Linked DNA regions of Homo sapiens: regions 1, 2, 3 and 5 are each linked to region 4. The links are contacts of gene promoters, found by promoter capture Hi-C in blood cells and fetal thymus (Javierre and others, 2016). All regions are on one chromosome and are shown on one strand. Each heading gives the region's core, a stretch centred on a gene start or on the middle of the fragment in contact. The rest is flanking DNA. Distances are from core to core; before and after follow the strand shown. Region 1 overlaps CD5 (CD5 molecule). Region 2 overlaps LOC124902678 (a long non-coding RNA gene). Region 3 overlaps VPS37C (VPS37C subunit of ESCRT-I). Region 4 holds the start of SLC15A3 (solute carrier family 15 member 3). Region 5 overlaps VPS37C (VPS37C subunit of ESCRT-I).

Region 1 (2,700 bases), core at 77-2,576, 170 kb before region 4:
CCAGGCCTCCACTTCCCTTGTATTCTCCATAGTGCCCTGTGCTGCACACATGTTCCCTGACCTTCTGGGATGCTCTGTGACCCCACCTAGGGCAGCAGAAGGTGTCATGGGGCTTGGCCAGGTCTCACTTACCTGAGCAAAGGAGGGCAAGAACTCGGCCACTTTTCTGGGGCTTGATTTTCCTGAAGCAATGCTCCAGGGAGGTACAGCTTGAGTTCTGGATCTTCCATTGGATTGGCAAGGGCTGGTGTTCCCGTGGCTCCCCTGGGTCTTGGGCTCTGCCTGCCTCAGTCTCTGGCAGATGCTTCAAGAAGGAGCCACACTGGAGGTTGTTGCAGAGGAAGTTCTCCAGGTCCTGGGTCTTGTCCTGGGCCTCATAGCTGATGGTACCCCCCAGGCTGCCGCTGTAGAACTCCACCACGCCGGCACAGTGCTGGCCGCCAGACTGTGCCACCAGCTGCAGCCTGGGAGGAGCTAGGAGAGGAGAGAGCAGGAGGGGGAGCCACCCTGAGCGCCGAGGGCTTCCTGGGCACTCCTTGCTGTTTGGCCCCAACTTGTGGACAACTACTGACTAACGCTTAGCCTTGGGAGGTGATGGGGTCCCAAATATTGCGTAGAACACACCAATACTAAACATTTCCACCTTTGTCAGAAATTCCAATGTAACTGGGCATCCTGGGTTTTTATTTGCTAGCTCTGACTCCCTGTGGGGGGTTCAGAATCCTCTTACCTGTGGGCTCTGGAGTTGTGGTGGGCGGGGGCCTTGTCGTTGGAGGTGTTGTCTTCTGGGGTTCTGCAATGAGACACTCTGGTGAGGGAGGAATGGGTGGTGTGGGGAGGGCCGGGGGCAGCCAGCAGCCTTGAGAGGACCAGGAGCTCCTGGCATGAGTGCCGCTTGGCACACCAGGTCCACTTGACCCACACGTTGTCTCTAAGCCTCCTGCGAGGCGGGAAGTACCACCCCACTTCACAGATGGGAGAATGGAGGTTCAGAGGCGACGATGAAGTCAGTGATTGGCAGAACTAGGTCCTCCATTGCCATCCTACAGATGGGTGCTGGCCCCTTCCAGTCCCCCTCCTGGGTATGTGTCTTGGGGAGTGGTTATAAACTGGGGTCCCCCCACCCCTTCCACCAGCCTGCTCAGACCCTAGATCACAGGCCTCGGGCAGTCTCCTCGGGGCTGGCGCCCAGGCCCAGGGTGCCCGTGTGGCTGGCTAGTTACCCACCTAAGCAGGTCAGGCCCAGAGAGTGACACATGTCATTTCTGCTGTGGCTGCAGTTGGAGAAGGAGCCCAGTTGTCCGTAGCAGATGATTGAGCTCTGAGGTGTGTAGGTGACAAGGAAGGGGCCAAGGCTTAAGGGCACCCCACAGTTCAGCCGCTGGCAGACTTTTGACGCTTGACTGGGGTCCTCCCACTGCTTGGAGCTCCGGCCCCAGCTCTGGCTGCAAACCATGTGCCATCCGTCCTTGAGGTAGACCTCCAGCTGGCCCTGGCACTTCGAGTTGGAACGGGTGAGCCTTGCCTGGAAATCTGGGGGTCAGAAAGGTGTGGTGGGGGTCAGGCTGGGAGGGGTTCCCCACTGGCACCCCTCACTGCCCTCTCCCTAGGACGCCCAGTTGAGCTCCCTCCTGCCCCGTGGGCTGCCTGCCTTGCCCCTTGTGAGCTTCGTCCCTTCTGGGGCACTGCAGGGGCTTCCCAGAGGACCCTGACCCAGGCAGCCCCGAAGCTAGACCCAGGAGGGTGGGGCTCCAGATTTCAGAGTCAGAAGGGAGCTCAGATAAATGGGCAAGGTGTTCTCGGCACCCACTGTCCAGCAGGATGGCCCCTGTCCTGGAAATTCTGTCTCAAGGGGTCTGAGATTGGGGCTGGTGTCTGCTTTTTAAGAGATCTTTAAAAATTAATTTTAGGCCAGGTGTGGTGGCTCATGCCTGTAATCCCAGCACTTTGGGAAGCTGAGGCGGGCAGATCACCTGAGGTCAGGAGTTTGAGACCAGCCTGGCCAACATGGTGAAACCCCATCTCTACTAAAAAAAGAAAAAATACCAAAAATTAGCTGGGTGTGGTGGCAGGCGCCTGTAATCCTAGCTACTCGGGAGGCTGAGGCAGGAGAATTGCTTGAACCCGGGAGGCAGAGGTTGCAGTGAGCCAAGATCGCGCCACTGCACTCCAGCCTGGGTAACAGATCAAGATTCCATCTCAAAAAAAAAAAATTTTATTGAGGTAATTTTACATACAGTGAAATGCACTCATTTTAAGGATACTGTTCGATGGAATTTGACAAATGTATACATGCATGTAACCACCACCATAATCTAGATATGGAACATTTCCATCATCTAGAAAGTTCCCTAAGGCCCCTTTATAGTTAATTTCCCTGAATCTAGCCTCAGGCAAACACTGATCTGCTTTTTGTCACAAAAGATGAGTTTTGCCTGTGCTACAATGTCATAGACATGGACTCATACAGCATGGATTTTATTTTGTTTGATTTGGCTTTTTTCGCTTAGCATGTATTTGAGATTTAGCTATGTCACTGGACGCATAAGTAGTTCATTCCTTTTTATTGCCGAATGATAGTTCACTACACGGACATGCCAATTTGTTTTCCATTCACCATTTGATTTGTTTCCGGGTTTTGCCTACTATGAATAAGGCTGCTGTGAACATTCACATACAGGTCTTTGTGTGGGCGTTTCC
Region 2 (2,700 bases), core at 100-2,599, 250 kb before region 4:
ACATTGACATTACAGACTCCCCTGTTAGTTGACATCTTTGTGCCCCAAATGTGAATCCTGGGCCCATTTTCTTTTGTTTTCTTTTCTTTTTTTTTAACTGTGAATCTCACTCCAGTATGACTAGCCCTTGTATTTTCCACGTTCATGTCTTCTGGTGCCTCCTTCTCTTCCTCTTTCTTTCCTCCCTCTCAAGCCTCTCTCTCTGTTTTATGAGACAGGGTCTTATTCTGTCACTCAGGGTAGAGCGTAGTGGGGTGATCATGGCTTACTGCAGCCTCAGCCTCCCACGCTCAATTAGTCCTCTGGCCTCAGGCTCTGAGTAGCTGGGATGAAAGGCATGAGCCACTACACCGAGCTAACTTTTGTATTTTCTGTAGAGACAGGGCTTCACTATGTGGCCCAGGCTGGTTTCGAACTCCTGGGCTCAAGCGATCTTCCTGCCTCAGCTTCTCAAAGTGCTGGGATTACAGTGAACCACACTGCACCTGGCCCTCTCTCTCTTTATGGATACATAATATTTTACATATTTTTTTTGGGTACATGTGATATTCTGTTACAGGCATAGAAAGAGTAATGATGAAGTCAGGGTATTTGGAGTATCCATCACCTAAGTATGGGTTGATCCTAGCACTCATGTGAAGAACCTGATGGTCCTGAAGATGCTGCCTAAGTTCTGGGGGCACCAGATGGAATCCCCTCACTCAAGGCTGCCACCAGATGGAAGGGAGGGAGCTTGGAGCCCAAGGATGGGCACTGATTTTGGGGGCACAGTTTGTCTGGGGCCCACATGGGAATTTTGAGCAGAGAAGTATATTTGGGAAGCAGAAGGAAGATTCCCCAGGCAGAAACCTGCAAGCCCCTTTACACATTCATTCAAATGCCTTATTGTGCACTTGCTGTGTACCGTGCAGGGATGCTCTAGCTGCAGAGGGTACATCCCTGAGCATGGTAGGACTAGGCCGTGCCTTTGGCGCATTTGTGGTCAGTTGAAGGGAAAGCTGGTGTGGAAGGGGCTCTTCCTTTCCACCTGGATGGATATTTGGATCACATTGAGGGGAAGCTCTCAGATTGGTGAAGATGATAATGTTTCTCCACATTAGAGATTTTAGCACCCTGAGGGACGCTGGCATGCTTGCTGACACCAATTCAGGGGTATGGCAGAGAGACTGTAGGATGGCCCCCAATTATTCATGCTGCTGGTGTTCACATCCCTGCGTAATCCCCTCCCCTTTTGTGTAGGCAGGACTTGCTTCTAGCCAACAGGATACAGCAAAGTAGATGGGATGTTGCTTTTGCGATGACATTATACAGGCTTGTAGCTTGTGTCTTGCTAGCACACTGTCTGTATAGACTCTTCCTCTTGCTGGCTCTGATAAAGAAAGCTGCCCTATAAAGAGGCCCAAGGGGAAGGACCCAAGGGTGGCCTCCAGCTGACAGCCAGCAAGGAACTCAGGCCTTCAGTGTGACAATCTACAAGTAACTGAATCCTGCCAGCAAGCGTGTGAGCATGGAAGCAGATCCTTCTCTAGTCAAGCCTCAGATGAGACCACAGACCAGGCTGACATCCCTGACTGACAGAGGCCTCAGCTGTACCGAGCCTGGATTCCTGACCCACAGAAACAGTGAGATAGTGAGTCAGTGTGAGTTGTTGTAAGTCATTCAGTGTGTGTTAACTTGTCATCAGCAATAGAAAGCAGGACTGGAAACCTCTTGAAAACTCCAAAAAGATCCACCTGGTTGCCTCTTGCTCTTCCCTCTTTTGGGACCATTTCAGTGCTCTGCTAGGTGGTTTTCTGCTCAGGCAATATGAGTGATCTGAAAAGGGAGAAGGTGACGTTGTTGGTCAGGTCATCTGCAAACCTCCCTCAACATAGTAGTGCTTACATTTGTGTGCCTATTTGTGCTTTTCTGAATGCTTTGAATTATTTTAAAAAGAATTATTAAACTATTACTCCCACTTTTTCCCAACGGACATAGCTCAGAGGGGTTAAGTGATCAGTGCAGGTTCACATAACTAAGTAATGACACAGATGGGACCTGAACCTGGGTCTCAGGAGGCTCTGGTCCCTGGCCAGACTATGTGACTATGTACATCCACCTGGTTTCTGCTCATGGGTTAGTGTGTGACAGGAACATTCCATGATGGCTGCAGCCTCCATCCCAGGGGCACTTGGAGAAGCCATTCCACTCAGCCCCCTTGACCAGAAGAACCCTTGGGATGGAAAAGGGAATCCTGATTCTGCAACTACGTGCTCCCATGAGATCTGATTTTCAGCCAGGGCTGATCCGTGGCTGCCAGCAAGGAAGCCACATCATCTCATTGTACTAGACTGGCCCGGCTGAAAGATTAGACAACAACGTTTACTTTGCCATTAGCCCTGCCTGGCACTCAGTATGGTATTGCCTGGCTTTCAGGGGCACTGGTAGCAGTGTCTCCGATGCAGGGCAGCCCCTGCCAAGGGCACAGGTGTTCATAAATATTCCATGAACCAATCAAATCAAGCAATGGAATGAGATCTAAGGAACCTAGTCACGGCAAGCCTGAGACAGAGCACTTAAGCATGATAAATGTTATCGAGCTGGTCTGATAGGCATTGGGGCAGCTGGTCCCCTCGCAGTTTTCAATCAAGGTCTCACCCCAGGGACAGGATCTTCCAACACCAAAGAGAACATTGTGTTTTCCACTCCCCAGTCCCAGAC
Region 3 (2,700 bases), core at 105-2,604, 200 kb before region 4:
TGACAAAGTAAATGTACTTAATGTGAAAGAACTGTATACTTAAAAATGATTAAAATGGTAAATTTTGTTACGTATAAAACAGTTTTTAAAAATAGAGGATTTAAAAATTACGGTATATCTCTTAAAAAGTTTTTTACTTCTAAACAATTTGTGTCTTTATATTGAAAGTGGGCTTCTTGTAGGCAGCATATAGATGGGTGGTGTTTTTGTTTTTGTTTTTTTTTGAGACAGAGTCTCCTTCTGTTGCCCAGGCTGGAGTACAGTGGTGTGATCTTGACTCACTGCAACTGCCTCCTCCTGGGTTCAAATGATTCTCATGCCTCAGCTTCCTGAGAGCTGGGATTACAGGCGTGTGCCTACCATGCCCAGCTAATTTTTTGGTATTTTTAGTAGAGACGGGATTTCACCATGTTGGCTAGGCTGGTCTTGAACTCCTGACCTTAAGTTATCTACCCACCCCTCCCAAAGTGCTGGGTTTACAGGCGTGAACAACTGCACCTGGCCGGGGGTTGCTTTTTAATCCAATCTCACAAGCTGCATTTTAATTGGGGTGTTAAGACTATTTAGATTTAATGTGGTTATTGATATGGTTGAGTTTAAATCTACCTTCTTGCTATTTGTTTTCAATTTGTCCCATGTGCTTTGTTCCCTTTTTCCTTTTTTATGACTTCTTTGGGATCGAATAATTTTTATGATTCCACTTTGTTTCCTTTGTTGGTTCATTAATTCGAACACTTTTTAGTGGTTGCTTTAAGGTATATAGTATGCATCTTTAATTTGCTACAGCCTATCTTCAAGCGATATTATACCACTTTAGTGTAAGAATCTTGCAATAGTTTACTTTCATTTCCTTCCTCCTGGACTTTGTATTGTTGTCACCTGTTTTACTTCTACACGTGCCATAAATCCCACAACACATTGTTATTTTTGCTTTAAATAGTCAATTATTTTTTAAGGAGATGAAAATGTAAAGTTCTTTTATATTTACTTGTTCGTTTAACATTTTTGGTGCTCTTTATTCCTTCATGTAGATCCACATTTCTATCTTGTTTCATGTTCCTTCTGACTTGAGGACATCCTTTTAACATTTCTTGTGGTGCTGGTCTGTTAGTGATGGATTCTTTCAGCTTTTGGGTGTCTAGAGAAGTCTTTATTTTGGCTTTGTTTTTGGAAGGCATTTTCCCTGTATAGAATTCTGGATTAACTATTTTTTTTTTCAGTGCTTTAAAGATGTTCCAGTGTCTTTTGCTTGCATTGTTTCATATCAGTAGTCTGCTATTTTTCTTTCCTTTTTTCTTCTTGCTTTTTAAGAGGCAGAATCTCACTCTGTCATCCAGGCCAGAGTGCAGTGGCGTGATCATAGCTCACTGTGGCCTCAAACTTCTGGGCTCAAGTGATCCTCCCACCTCAGGGTCCCTAGTAGCTAAGACTACAGGTGTGTATCACCATGCCTGGGTAGTTGTTTTTTAATGATTATTCTTTATTTTTGTAGAGATAGGGTCTTGCTATGTTGCTCAGGCTGGTCTTGACTTCCTGGCCTCAAGTGATCCTACGGCATCAGCTTCCCAAAGTGATGAGATTACAAGCATGAGCCACCACACCTGGTCTGTTTATTTTTATTTTTTGCTCTTCTGTTTGTAATGTATCTTTTCTCCTTATAACTGCTTTTCTTTCTCCCTGTCCCCCCGCCTTTTTTTTTTTTTTGGAGACAGAGTCTCACTCTGTCATCCAGGCCAGAGTGCAGTGGCGTGATCATAGCTCACTGCAGCTTCAAACTTCTGGGCTCGAGGGATCCTCCCACTTCAGCCTCCCAAGTAGTTGGGACCACAGGTGTGTGCCACCATGCCAGGCAAATTTTTTATTTTTTGTAGAGACAGGGTCTCACTATGTTGCCCAGGGTGGTCGAAAACTCCTGGGCTCAAGCGATCCTCCCACCTCGGCCTTCCAAAGTGCTGAGATTGCAGGTGTGAGCCACTGTGCCTGGCCCTAACTGCTTTTCTAACTGAGTTTAAACAATGTAATGATGATGTGCTTTTGTGTAGTGTAATTTTCTTTGTGTGTTTTGTGCTTGGGTTCATTGAGTTTTTTGGATTTGTGGGTTTATAGCTTTCATCAGATTTGGAAATTTTTCAGTCAGTAACTCTGCAAATATTTTTTTTATTCCCTTTTCTCTTTCCTCTCTTTCGGGGACTCCAGTTACATGTATGTAAGGGTGCTAGAGGTTGCTCCATAGCTCTCTGATCATTCATTTTTCCCAGTAGTCCCTTTTTCTTTTCTCTCTGTGGTTTGTTCTGGTTAGTTTCTATTGCTCTTTCTTCAAATTCACTGGTCTCTTCTGCATTGTCTAATCTGCTGATATTACCTTTCAGTATACTTTTTATCACAGACATTGTAGTTTTCATCTCTAGAAGTTTGATTTGGGTCTTTTAAATATCTTCCCTGTCTCTAACATGCTTAATCTTTCTTTTAGCTTCTTGAACATATGGAATATAGTTTTAGGAACTGTTTTAATGTCCTTGCCTACTAATTCCATTATCTGTGTATTTTTTGGGTCTGTTTCTATTGCTTCCCTCATTATGAGTCTTATTTTCTTGATTCTTTGTATGTCTGGTAATTTTTATTGTATATCAGATGTTGTGAATTTTACCTTGTGGGGTGCTGGATATTTTTGTATTTCTAGAAATGTTCCTGGCATTGTTT
Region 4 (2,700 bases), core at 78-2,577:
CGAGATTGTGCCACTGCATGGCAGCCTGGGCGACAGAGTGAGACTTCGTCTCAAAACAAACATACAAACAAACAACAACAACAAAAAATCCCTCGCTTTTTTGCTGGTATCTATAGTGCTTTTTTTGCTGGTATCTATAGCTTTTGTGAGACTCAGTTTATTTAGCTTTAGCTTTCCTGATATTATTATTCTTACAAATTTTGCCTTGGGACACTCTTTCCATTCATTGATTCAGGCAATACTTATTGAGCACCTACTATTTGCCAAGCACTGGGAAGCCATTGAGAATAAAACAGTGAAGAGTTAGAAAAGGTCTCTGATCTGATGGAGGGCCTATTCTACTGGTGCTAACTGAACAAGTAATATGTGCTCTGAAGACATTAAAACAAGACAATGTGATGGGGGATGCTGAGAATCCAGTAGGAAACTACTTAGATGGGAAAATCAGGGAAGGTCCCTACAAAGGAGACATATATGCTGAAACCTCAATAAAGAGAAGCAGCCAGCCATGCAAGGATATGGAGGGAGAGCAGTTATGGCAGAGGGGTCAGCAAAGACAAAGGCCCTGAGGCAGGGAGGAGCTTAGCATGGAAGGGGAACCTGGGAGGCCGGCTGGCTGGACTTGAGTGAACATGGGGCTGAGATGAGATCAGAGGAGAGCAGAGGCCAGATCCCCCGGGCTCCTAGGTCAGGGTGGGGCTGGTGCTTAGGAGTTCTGAGGCTGACTCTGATTTAGTCTGAGGTCGGTGTCCCTCTCAATCCCGACTCACTTGTGGTCCTCTATGGCCCGCAGGCTTGTTGAAAGTGCCCCACTTCCTTCCTCACAGCAGCCTCTGTGCAATCCGAATTGCGCTGTGAATTTCCCTGCCACTCAGGAGCCCGGGGCAGGGCTTCACCCCTAGTTCAGTTACCAGGAACCAATCTTTCTCCACCTTCCTGCCCTAGCCCCACTGGGTCTGTCTCTGCATCTGTGAAATGGCTGAGTGTGACCAAATGATGCAGGTAGCCTTTCCACTTCTTTCTACCCGTGGCGCCTCGGGTGGAGGCGTGGAGTTTGATTGGAAGAGGGTAAAGCAAAAGTGGAATCCTGGCGAGAAATGAAACTGAAAGAAAAAATTCCTCCTGGAATTTTTTGGCTCTAAGGAGGCCAGCAGCGGGGGTTTGGGGTAGGAGGCAGAGGTAGAGAAGGAGGGAGGTTTTTAGAAAGCTGACCGGGCAGGAGCCCTGTGACCCAGGCTTTCACTTCTCCTAAACACCCAGTAGCGCCATGTGATGCAGGCAGGGGACTGCGGATAGGGCCTGTGAAAGGGGAAGCGAGGGGAGCCCAGAGTTTCTCAAGAAGCCGAGAGAGGGACAGAGGCTGAGCCTGGGGGGAGGGCTGCAGGGGACTGAGAGGGGAGTGTAGGCAGTGGGGGTGAGGGGGACAGGGAGGAGGTGGAGAAGACGGCAAGGGGCAGCAGGGTGACTGGGGCAGAGGGAGCCCCCACCCCACGCCCAGGGCAGGCCAGGAGTCATAAGGAGAGGGGACAACAGGAAGGGGCGACAAACGGGGAGGGGAAAGGGAGGCGGAGGGGCAGCGAAGTGAAGCAGGGAGGGTCGCAGTGTGAACAAGAGTGCGAGGAAGGGTCAAGGTGGAGGGAGGAGAGGGGAGAGTTAGGGAGAAACAGCTGCAGGAGAGGCGCGGGGAGGAAGCCTTAGGGGTGGGGGAAGGGAGAGGGGAGTTGAGAATTAGGGAGGAGGTGGTAGAGTCCGGGTAGTGAGCGGAGGGACAGGAAGGGTAGGGCAAGAAAGGGAGAGGGGACAGGAGGGAAGGGTGGGCCAAAGCGGTGAGAAAGGAGGGCCAGCCAGTTGGGTGGGGGAGAGGGCCGAGGCCCGGGGGCAGGAGTGCAGGGCTCTGAGGCGGGGAGAGGAGAGGAGAGAAGAGCCGCGGGGGGCCCAGCCCGGAGCCAGGATGCCCGCGCCGCGCGCCCGGGAGCAGCCCCGCGTGCCCGGGGAGCGCCAGCCGCTGCTGCCTCGCGGTGCGCGGGGCCCTCGACGGTGGCGGCGGGCGGCGGGCGCGGCCGTGCTGCTGGTGGAGATGCTGGAGCGCGCCGCCTTCTTCGGCGTCACCGCCAACCTCGTGCTGTACCTCAACAGCACCAACTTCAACTGGACCGGCGAGCAGGCGACGCGCGCCGCGCTGGTATTCCTGGGCGCCTCCTACCTGCTGGCGCCCGTGGGCGGCTGGCTGGCCGACGTGTACCTGGGCCGCTACCGCGCGGTCGCGCTCAGCCTGCTGCTCTACCTGGCCGCCTCGGGCCTGCTGCCCGCCACCGCCTTCCCCGACGGCCGCAGCTCCTTCTGCGGAGAGATGCCCGCGTCGCCGCTGGGACCTGCCTGCCCCTCGGCCGGCTGCCCGCGCTCCTCGCCCAGCCCCTACTGCGCGCCCGTCCTCTACGCGGGCCTGCTGCTACTCGGCCTGGCCGCCAGCTCCGTCCGGAGCAACCTCACCTCCTTCGGTGCCGACCAGGTGAGTGGCAGGAGGCCTGCCCCGGCATACTCCGGCGGGTGTGGAGGGAAGGAGGGCTGGCCCCCAGCGTGACCTGGGACAAACCAGGTCCCCTGCCTGCACTAGTTTCCTGATTTGAAAGAAGAGGGGGGCTAGCCCTTGCAAAACCGATGGCAACCGCAGTGGGAATAACCATGGTTGTTTTTTTGTTT
Region 5 (2,700 bases), core at 92-2,591, 180 kb before region 4:
AGAATCGTGACAAAGCAGAGAATCATGGAAAATGTGAGCAGAAGCGACCTCTTGGGCAGAAGGCACTTGAATTTTGTGGTGTGCAGCCACACCTGTCCCATCGATCTGAACTCTCTGAGGGGAAAAAACACTCGTGGATCAGGTAGAAATGAAGCAGGACAAGCCACTTAGACTTCAGACCATTGGCAAACTTTTTTATCGTGGGCTATAAGACAGTCATTGAGTCACAGTGGGATTGTGAGAAGAGACAGGAGCTCTCTATTAGTTCGGGACATGGACACGGCTAGGAGAGAAGGGAGTTGGCAGGGGCTCTCTCCGTGTAGAAGAGTGTGCATAGAGGGGTGTGTGGAGGGGAGCTGCTTTGGGTTGGGGGCCAGATATAGAAGGGAAACACCGTAACTTATTAAGGAAAGTTAGTCAAAATGGTTTTATCTCCCACTTTGCAACTTTTTTTAATTTTTGTTTTTTTAGGCAGGGTCTTACTTTGTCACCCAGGCTGGAGTGCAATGGCGCCATCATGGCTCACTGCAGCCTCCACCTCCTGAACTCAAACAATCCTCCCACCTCAGCCTCCCAAGTAGCTGGGACTACAGGTGCACACCACCACACCTGGCTAATTTCTAAATTTTACATAGCAACTTTTAAGAACTATTAGATACTTCTTGTTGAGTTTTGCTGTAGATTCAAAGAAAATTGATAATTATCTATAAAGGTTAGTAGCGACTCCTTCCTTTTCTAGCTATATATCTGTATGAGTATAGATTCTTCCTCCTTATTTCCACCAAAGTAATATACTAGGGCAGATTGAATTCAGAAGCAGCAAAACATGTGAAAACATCTTTTATTTACCTATTTTTAGTCTTACCTCTTTTCAGTGACTGGGAGGACTTCACACTGAACCCCTAATATGCATCGATATGCAATTTTCTAAATTGATGCATATTTTGCATATTTATGGGGAAGATGAGAATCTTTGTTGCATGCATAGAATGTGTGATGATCAGGCTGGGCGCGGTAGCTCATGCCTGTAATCCCAGCACTTTGGGAGGCCGAGGTGGGTGGAAGACCTGAGGTCAGGAGTTCGAGAGCAGCCTAGCCAACATGGTGAAACCCCATCTCTACTAAAAATACAAAAATTAGCCAGGCGTGGTGGCACGTGCCTGTAGTCCCAGCTACAAGGGAGCAAGGGAGGCTGAGGCAGGAGAATCGCTTGAACCCAGGAGGCAGAGGTTGAAGTGAGCCGAGATTGCGCCATTGCACTCCAGCCTGGGCAACAGAGCGAAACTCTGTCTCAAAAAAAAAAAAAAAAAAAAAATGTGTAATTAAGGTCAGGGCATTTAGGGTCTCCATCACCTTGAGTATTTGTTGTTTCTGTGTGTTGGGAACATTTTACGCTTCTTGCTACTTTGAAATATACAATACATTGTTGCTGACCATAGTCACCCTACTCAGCTGTTGAACATTAGAACTTACTTCTTCTATCTACCTATATGTTTCTACCCATTGACCCACTTCGTGGAGAAAGATGTAAGAAGGCTGTGGAGACAGGGAGCAGAAATAAGTAGGGCAAGATTTAGGGGAAAATGATACAGCGTCGATTTGTTGGTTTAGACGCAGGGAAAAGGCAGTGGACCTATAGGGAGGCCAGAGGATCCATGGGGCCCTGCAAGGGATGGGTGAGCAGGAGGGCTTTAGGCCTTTCACTCTGGGTCAGCCATGTAAGTAAAGTTTCCATGGCTAATAAAAATTAGATTGAGAGTCACGTATGGTGGTTTGTGCCTGTAGTCCCAGCTATTGGAAGGATGGGATGGGAGGATTGTTTGAGGCCAGCCTGGGCAACGTAGGGAAACCCCATCTCTACAGAAAATAAAAGAACTTAGCCAGGCGTGGTGGTGCATGCCTGTAGTCCCAGCTGCTGGAAAGGCTGAGAAGGGAATATTGCTCGAGCTCAGGAGTTTGAGGCTGCAGTGACCTATGGTCATGCTATTGCACTCATTCTGGACGACAGAATGAGACCATGTCTGTAGAAGGCAGCAGCGTGGGCTCTAGGCTGGACAGACCCTGGGCCCTACATCCCTGAACCCTGGCAGCCTTGTCTGGAGGGCTCAGGGAGGGCAGGAAGCTGTGGTATCCCTCTTTCCAATCTGGAGCACAAAGAAGAGGCAATGGGCCTGCCCCAGAGTGCAGGACCTCGGCCCCTGTAGCTGGGACAGCAGAAGGGGTAGCCTTTCCCCGAGGCCGCCTCTTCCAGAATGCCCACGGGCTTCCTATGTCTCGTGGGGCATGAGCCAGTCTGGCTTGGTCTGTCACATGCTGACCATGGTGGAGAAGCTGCACAGAGAAGCTGCACAGTGAGGGCCTGACTTAGAGTCAGTCTTGCTGAGCTGTTCCCTGCGCCCTGTGGCGGGTGCCGAGGCCTCTCTTCTGGTGCCCCATGCTGCTGACAGTGTACTGTCACTGCTGGCTCAGCATGCAGGTCTGACTCCTCAGCCCTCCTCTTAGGAAGAGGACTCCTTGGCGGATGCATGGGGCGTCACATCACAACAGCTGGCAAGGGTGCCTTGGCTTCTGTCTCACTGGCTGGCAGCGACGAAGAGCCTGGCAGAGGGGTAAAGTGCCGCTTGGCTTGGGGAAGTGTTTGCAGCAGGGAATGTCCAGGGTGGCCCCTCTGGCTCATCTGTGCAGCTTCTCTGCAGGACA

The links. The method cuts DNA at HindIII sites, captures the fragments that hold promoters and counts their contacts. A CHiCAGO score of 5 or more calls a contact.
Region 1: a contact is called between a fragment that was not itself captured here and the fragment with the promoter of SLC15A3 in region 4, in 8 of 17 cell types (total CD8 T cells, naive CD8 T cells, M0 macrophages and 5 more). The highest score is 10.3, in total CD8 T cells.
Region 2: a fragment that was not itself captured here is called in contact with the fragment with the promoter of SLC15A3 in region 4 in 1 of 17 cell types (non-activated CD4 T cells); the score reaches 5.7 in non-activated CD4 T cells.
Region 3: a fragment that was not itself captured here is called in contact with the fragment with the promoter of SLC15A3 in region 4 in 8 of 17 cell types (naive CD4 T cells, activated CD4 T cells, total CD4 T cells and 5 more); the score reaches 11.5 in naive CD4 T cells.
Region 5: a contact is called between a fragment that was not itself captured here and the fragment with the promoter of SLC15A3 in region 4, in 9 of 17 cell types (activated CD4 T cells, naive CD4 T cells, total CD4 T cells and 6 more). The highest score is 14.6, in activated CD4 T cells.

What each region holds. Positions count from the first base shown.
Region 1 is chr11:61,117,008-61,119,707 of GRCh38, reverse strand. CD5 (CD5 molecule) reads right to left here. Exons shown (of 11, transcript NM_014207.4): 3 at 1,228-1,533; 4 at 731-793; 5 at 133-474. Among named protein-coding and RNA genes, the nearest start is that of CD5, 16 kb to the right of the region's middle. The HindIII fragment of the contact is 5,023 bases long and covers 1-2,700 here.
Region 2 is chr11:61,198,237-61,200,936 of GRCh38, reverse strand. LOC124902678 (a long non-coding RNA gene) reads right to left here. Exons shown (of 4, transcript XR_007062691.1): 4 at 67-1,815. Among named protein-coding and RNA genes, the nearest start is that of PGA3, 3.9 kb to the left of the region's middle. The HindIII fragment of the contact is 4,291 bases long and covers 1-2,700 here.
Region 3 is chr11:61,154,109-61,156,808 of GRCh38, reverse strand. All of the region lies in intron 1 of VPS37C (VPS37C subunit of ESCRT-I), which reads left to right. Among named protein-coding and RNA genes, the nearest start is that of VPS37C, 6.0 kb to the left of the region's middle. The HindIII fragment of the contact is 5,088 bases long and covers 1-2,700 here.
Region 4 is chr11:60,950,803-60,953,502 of GRCh38, reverse strand. It overlaps SLC15A3 (solute carrier family 15 member 3), which reads left to right and starts at 1,327. Exons shown (of 8, transcript NM_016582.3): 1 at 1,327-2,509. The coding sequence starts at 1,952. RefSeq lists an enhancer at 1,015-1,154 and silencers at 1,335-1,564, 1,885-2,044. The HindIII fragment of the contact is 22,604 bases long and covers 1-2,700 here.
Region 5 is chr11:61,134,777-61,137,476 of GRCh38, reverse strand. The region is part of intron 2 of VPS37C (VPS37C subunit of ESCRT-I); the gene reads left to right. Among named protein-coding and RNA genes, the nearest start is that of VPS37C, 25 kb to the left of the region's middle. RefSeq lists enhancers at 1-367, 1,689-2,204, 2,205-2,700. The HindIII fragment of the contact is 3,077 bases long and covers 1-2,700 here.